2 separate regions of the Homo sapiens genome follow, and region 2 is linked to region 1. The links are contacts of gene promoters, found by promoter capture Hi-C in blood cells and fetal thymus (Javierre and others, 2016). All regions are on one chromosome and are shown on one strand. Each heading gives the region's core, a stretch centred on a gene start or on the middle of the fragment in contact. The rest is flanking DNA. Distances are from core to core; before and after follow the strand shown.

Region 1 (2,924 bases), core at 144-2,643:
TTCTCTGGGGACTAATGATGTTGAGGATCTTTTCATGTAATCATTGGCTATTTATATAACTTCTTTGAACTGTCTATTCAGGTCGTTTGCCCATTTTTTCTTCTTTTTCTTTTTTATTCTTGACACAGGGTCTCCTCTGTTGCTCAGGAGTTCAGTGGCACAATCTCAGCTCACTGCAGCCTCTGCCTCCAGGTTTCAAGCAATTCTCCTGTCTCAGCCTCCCAAGTAGCTGGAATTACAGGCTCCCACCACCACGCACAGCTAATTTTGTGTTTTTAGTAGAGATGGGGTTTTGTCATGTTGGCCAGGCTGGTCTCGAACTCCTGACCTCAAGTGACCTGCCCGCCTTGACCTCCCAAAGTGCTAGGATTATAGGTGTGAGCCACCATGCCTGTCTCGCATTTTTAAAAAGCTCCCCAGGTTGTTCCGATTTGCTGCTGGGTTGATACTCACATTCCAGTGCTCAGATCTGTCCAGAAGAGTGGCTGCAGCACAGTTGTCTGTCCATAACTACCTCTATGGCCTCTCGTTTCCACCTCGTTTCTCAGGGTCTCAGTCCAGGGAAGGCCTTGCCACTTTGTGGCTGGAGACTGTGTCTTGCTTTCTGCTCTGAGTTCATCAGTAACTTGGGAAAGGGCTGTTTCAGAGCAGGCCTGGGCCACCTCAGTGCTGAGGAAGGGCTTTGTCTTGCAGGCTGGCTGGGGGTTGGTTGCCTGGGAGTGTTTTCCCCGAATTTGCAAGGGGCTTGCGCCCGGGTTCGAGTTTACGTGTGTCCATGACCAAGTCTTGGAGGGAAGGTCCTAGTGTAGAGTCTGTGGGTGGGTTCACTGTGTCTGTCCCCGTCCCTCAGATTTCTTTGTGTCTGGTATGTATGCCTCTTGGGGCCTCTATTTATCTGTCAGGGTCTCCGATGGGAGGGTCTCCGAACCTGAGGTCTAATTGAGCCTTAGAATATCACTCCTGCTACCAATCCAAAAATTCCGTCTGGGACAAGTCTCCCAGGAATGGCATGGGTGGGAGGGAGGCTCTTGTCTAGGACTCAGGCGCTAGCTTTGAGCGGTGTCTGTTTGGGGGCCTCAGTCCGTGTCTGTAAGTCTCCCTAGGGAGCGGCTCTGGGGCTTGGTCTGGAGAAGCCACTTCTCTCTGGCTCTGGCCTCCTGGGGCTCCCTGCAGCTGAGGCCAAGGCTGGGGTGTGGCCGCCTCCGCGGCAGGCCGGCGGGCTGGGCTCGGGTGGGCCGGGGCGCTCCCTCCTTTCCACGCCCCCACCTCGGGTTCCCCCGTTCATCGCCCCCCCATCCCCATCTCAGCGGGTCCCGGCTTCCTTACATGGTCACGGCCGGGCTTCCAGCTCCCGGACGTCCCCCGCCCCCCGCCCCCACCGGACACGGCCCCCGCCCTGTTCGCCCCGCGCCACCGGCCCGCGCCCCGCCATGGAGGACCTGGGTGAGTGGGGCCGGATCCCCGGGTCCGTGGCCCCTCACCGCTGCCCAGAGCTGCCTCCCCGCCGTCGCTCTCCCGCATCTCCCCATCCCTGTCTTCTTACTTCTGCTTTTCGCCTCTGCCCGCGCCTCCTTTCCAACTCCACGTCCCCCTTCCTGCCTCTCCCTTCCTGCCTTTCCTGGGCCGGCCGCTCCCTCCCTTCTTCCCTCGCTGTGCTCCTCCATCCCAGGCTGCGGCAGATGGAACGGGAGGTGCGGCGCCCGCGGGCGCCCGGGCGCGGGGCTCTGGGGAGGGAGGGGTTAAAGGGGCCTCGGCCCGGGGACCGGGAAAGTAGAGGGCACGGGAAAGTCTGGCATCAAGTTTTGGAGAAAAAAAGCGGGCCTGCCTGCACCAGAGTTTTGGGAGAGGAGGAGTTAAGGGCTCCTGAGCACAGTGAGGGTCAGGTCCTTGAGGCAAGGAAGAGAATAGTAACTCAGGAGTGCCTAGGCGCCCGCGAAGGCTTCAGGGTTTCACGCGGGTGCTCAGAGACGAAGACTGAGGGCAGGACTTCTGGGTTCTGGAAGTGAAAGGGCTCAAAAGACCCGGATCTGGGGATGCAGGGATGGAGAGAGGTGTCTTGTCCGGAAGGGGGACCCAGGTATCTCGTCCTCCCTGCGAAGCCTGGGGCTGGAAGGCTGTGCGCTCCACGGGAGAGAGGGGCTTCCGGCCCCTGGCGGTAGAGGGCGCTGCTCGGTAGGGGTAACTGACGCTGTACCGCAGATAAACAGCCAATCAGAAGGCAGGTCCCAGCGAAGCGCCAGTGAGGAGCCCAGGGCGGGACTCAGGGGCCTGGGAGTGGCCAGGCTGGGCGGGGCCTGTGTAGGTAGAGGGAGGAGTTAACCAGCATGGAAGAGAGAGCGTCCAATCAGAAAGCTGAGGGCCAGGCACTGGGCCAATGGAGCAATTTGGAGGGGAGCCAAATTTGGCTTGGGTGAAGAGCCCATTTTGACTGCATCAGAGAAGATGGGGAGAATAAAATAATCAGGAGGCTGGGTTTGTGCTTGGCTCCAAGCGTGAGCAACTGGGATATTCTGGTCATAAATATTCCTTGCTACCCTTCGAGCAGTGCTCTGCCTGGCTCTGGCCCTGTGACCTCTTCTCTTAATACTGGCTTCTGTCCTTCTCCAGTACTGCCCACTGGGAACCTTATCTTCTGATCTAACCGTGACCCTTGTCTCTCTCCCTGATGGCCTCTTCCTGCAGATGCCCTGCTCTCTGACCTGGAGACTACCACCTCGCACATGCCAAGGTCAGGGGCTCCCAAAGAGCGCCCTGCGGAGCCTCTCACCCCTCCCCCATCCTATGGCCACCAGCCACAGGTGAGATCGGATGTTGGGGACTGGGGCAGCCACTAGGGCCAGGCTCGGCCTGGTCTATGGGGATCTCAGCCTCAGTGGGGCAGAGTGCAGGCCTGTCATCCCACCTGTGCGTCTCCGCTCTGTAGA
Region 2 (2,924 bases), core at 131-2,630, 530 kb before region 1:
TTTTTTTTGTTTTTTTTTTGAGACGGAGTCTCGCTCTGTCGCCCAGGCTGGAGTGCAGTGGCACGATCTCGGCTCACTGCAAGCTCCACCTCCCAGATTCACGCCATTCTCCTGCCTCAGCCTCCCGAGTATCTGGGACTACAGGCGCCCTCCACCACGCCCAGCTAATTTTTTGTATTTTTTTTTTAGTAGAGACGGGGTTTCACTGTGTTAGCCTGGATGGTCTTGATCTCCTGACCTAGTGATCCACCCACCTCGGCCTCCCAAAGTGCTGGGATTACACGCATGAGCCACCGCGCCCGGCAACAATACTGGTTTTAAGTGCAAAGAGGAGATGATTCAAAGATAAATCATGTTACGCAGATAAGTGAACAGCAAATACTGGAGCTTGGGAATCACTGCCCCAGCCCAGGGCTTCTACAAGGAAAAGCCTTTCAGAGTCATGAGGGCAGGGAGGGAGGCAAGAGAAAGCTTCCCTTGGGAGGCCAAGGGAAGGATCGCTTGAGCTCAGGAGTTCAAAACCAGCCTGGACAACCTTGTCTCTACTAAAAATAAAAAAATAGGCCAGGCACAGTGGCTCACGCCTGTAATCCCAGCACTATGGGAGGCCAAAGTGGGCAGATCACCTGAGGTCAGGATTTCGAGACCAGCCTGGCCAACATGGAGAAACCCTATCTCTACTAAAAATACAAAAAATTAGCCGGGCGTGGTGGCGCATGCCTGTAATCCCAGCTACTCTGGAGGCTGAGGCGGGAGAATCGCTTGAACTTGGGAGATGGTGGTTTCAGTGAGCCAAGATCACACCATTGCACTCCAGCCTGGGCAACAAGAGCGAAACTCTGTCTCAAAAAAAAAAAAAAAGTCAGGTGTGGTGGCATGTGCCTGTAGTCCCAGCTACTCAGGAGGCTGAGGTAGGAGGATGGCTTGAGCCCAGGAGTTTAAGGTTGCAGTGAGCTGTGATCGCAGTACTGCACCCCAGCCTGGGTGACTAAGCAAGACACTGTCTCAAGAAAAAAAAAAAAAAGCTTCCTGGGCCTGCTGCTTCTGACACAGTCTATTGAGTCTCAGAGGCATTTCTGGACATGCCTTTGAGAACTACTGAACTCAGAGAAGAGAGTTCTCAAACTGAGTCCAAAGGAACTTCAGTGTACTACAAAATGTTACTAGATTACCTTGGGAGAGGTGGGGAAGGATTCCTGGGGAAGTACGTTTGAGAGGCCCTTCTCCAGTTCACTGCATGTTTTTTGTTTGTTTGTTTGTTTGTTTGTTTTTGAGATGGAGTCTCTCACTGTTGCCCCAGCTGGTGTGCAGTGGTGCGATCTCGGCTCGCTGCAATCTCCGCCTCCCGGGTTCAAGTAATTCTCCTGCCTCAGCCTCCCGAGTAGCTAGGATTACAGGCGCCCGCCACCATGCCCAGCTAATTTTTTGTACTTTTAGTAGAGACAGGGTTTCACTAGTAGAACAGCCAGGCTGTTCTCGAATTCCTGACCTCATGATCCACCCACCTCGGCCTCCCAAAGTGCTGGGATTACAGGTGTGAGCCACTGCACCCAGCCCACTGCATGTTAGATAGTCTGTTGAGGCCTGTGGAGTGCTCGGGTTAGGAAACCTGTTTAATGTTGCTTAGGACTCGTTCATCTTTGTAGCTTCAATACTTGGGACCTATAACGCTTTCTATAATCAGAGTGAATAAATGAAATGCTGTAGATGAGGAGGTGGGGGAGAGTGGTCAGTGGAAGCTTTAAGTAGTTACTAGCTTGATTCATTCATTACAAATGGGCAGCTGGGTGCAGTAGCTCATGCCTGTAATCCCAGTGTTTTGGGAGGCCAAGGCAGGAGGATCGCTTGAGGCCAGGAGATCAAGACCAGCCTAGGCAACATAGTGAGACCCTGTCTCTACAAAAAAATTGTTTAAAAATTAGCCAGGCGTGGTGACATGTGCCTGTGGTCCCAGCTACTCAGGAGGCTGAGGTGGGAGGATTGCTTGAGCCCAGTAGGTTGAGGCTGCGGTGAGCCTGAGTCCAGCCTGGGTTACAGAGTGAGACCCTGTCTCAAAAAAAATTTTTTTTCAAAAAGTGGAAAACGCAAATCTGCCCTTGTGGAATTTACATTGTAGTTGGAGGAACACAGTAATGTAATAGGGAAGATATTAGGGCTGTAAGTCCAGCTGCGGGCAGCTGGCTGTCAAGATGGGACAGGTGTGGATCAGAAGCAGAGATGAGTAAAGGAGGCAAGGACCCATGAGCACCAGAACTCAGTCAGGAATCAAGAAGCCCAAGGGTGGCTGGAGACGACTGGATAACACCAGTCCCCTTGGCATGACATCAGGCAGCATGCGTGGCATTTGTGTATGTGTTGGGCAGCACACTTTCTATGCTGGGAGGCCCACAGCTGGGATGAGCCCATGTGACCTGACAGCTGCCCTGTGGGCAGGCAGAGTGGGGGGGCTATTGCCTTCAATCATAAACGAGGCTTCTGAGGCTCAGGGAGAGGAACAGACTTGCCCAGGGTCTCATTTCCAGTTAGTGATGGAGTTGGGTTCCAATCCCAGTGCTCTTGGCTGAGGTCAGGTGCTTCTTGCTACCCTGTTGTCTGTGTGGCCAGAAGAGAGCTGGGGTGCACCCTTGGAGCTGGGGAGCCTGGGAACTGTGGGCTGCTGAGAGCTGAGGGCTGAGGTCTCTGTCTCCCCCCTATGGCCGCCAGGTGCTATGACAAGCGTCTGTGGCCTCGAATGGACCTGAGCCGGCGGAAGTCACTGACCCCGCCCATGCTCAGTGGTGTGGTTCGCCGCCAGCCCCGTGCCCTGGACCTCAGCTGGACAGGTGTCTCCAAGAAGCAGCTCATGTGGCTTCTGAACCGACTACAAGGTAGGGTGTGTGGTACGGAGGACAGGGTGGGGACAGGGACAGGCCTGGGATGGAGTC

The links. Contacts are between HindIII fragments. The CHiCAGO score rates a contact against its expected background, and 5 or more counts as called.
Region 2: a contact is called between a fragment that was not itself captured here and the fragment with the promoter of TGFB1I1 in region 1, in 2 of 17 cell types (naive CD8 T cells and non-activated CD4 T cells). The highest score is 6.4, in naive CD8 T cells.

What each region holds. Positions count from the first base shown.
Region 1 is chr16:31,470,759-31,473,682 of GRCh38, forward strand. It overlaps TGFB1I1 (transforming growth factor beta 1 induced transcript 1), which reads left to right and starts at 1,394. Exons shown (of 11, transcript NM_001042454.3): 1 at 1,394-1,443; 2 at 2,683-2,798; 3 at 2,924. The coding sequence starts at 1,431. RefSeq lists an enhancer at 1,733-2,273. The HindIII fragment of the contact is 20,246 bases long and covers 1-2,924 here.
Region 2 is chr16:30,939,413-30,942,336 of GRCh38, forward strand. It overlaps FBXL19 (F-box and leucine rich repeat protein 19), which reads left to right. Exons shown (of 11, transcript NM_001382779.1): 8 at 2,704-2,867. Among named protein-coding and RNA genes, the nearest start is that of ORAI3, 8.2 kb to the right of the region's middle. RefSeq lists a silencer at 2,598-2,727. The HindIII fragment of the contact is 714 bases long and covers 1,024-1,737 here.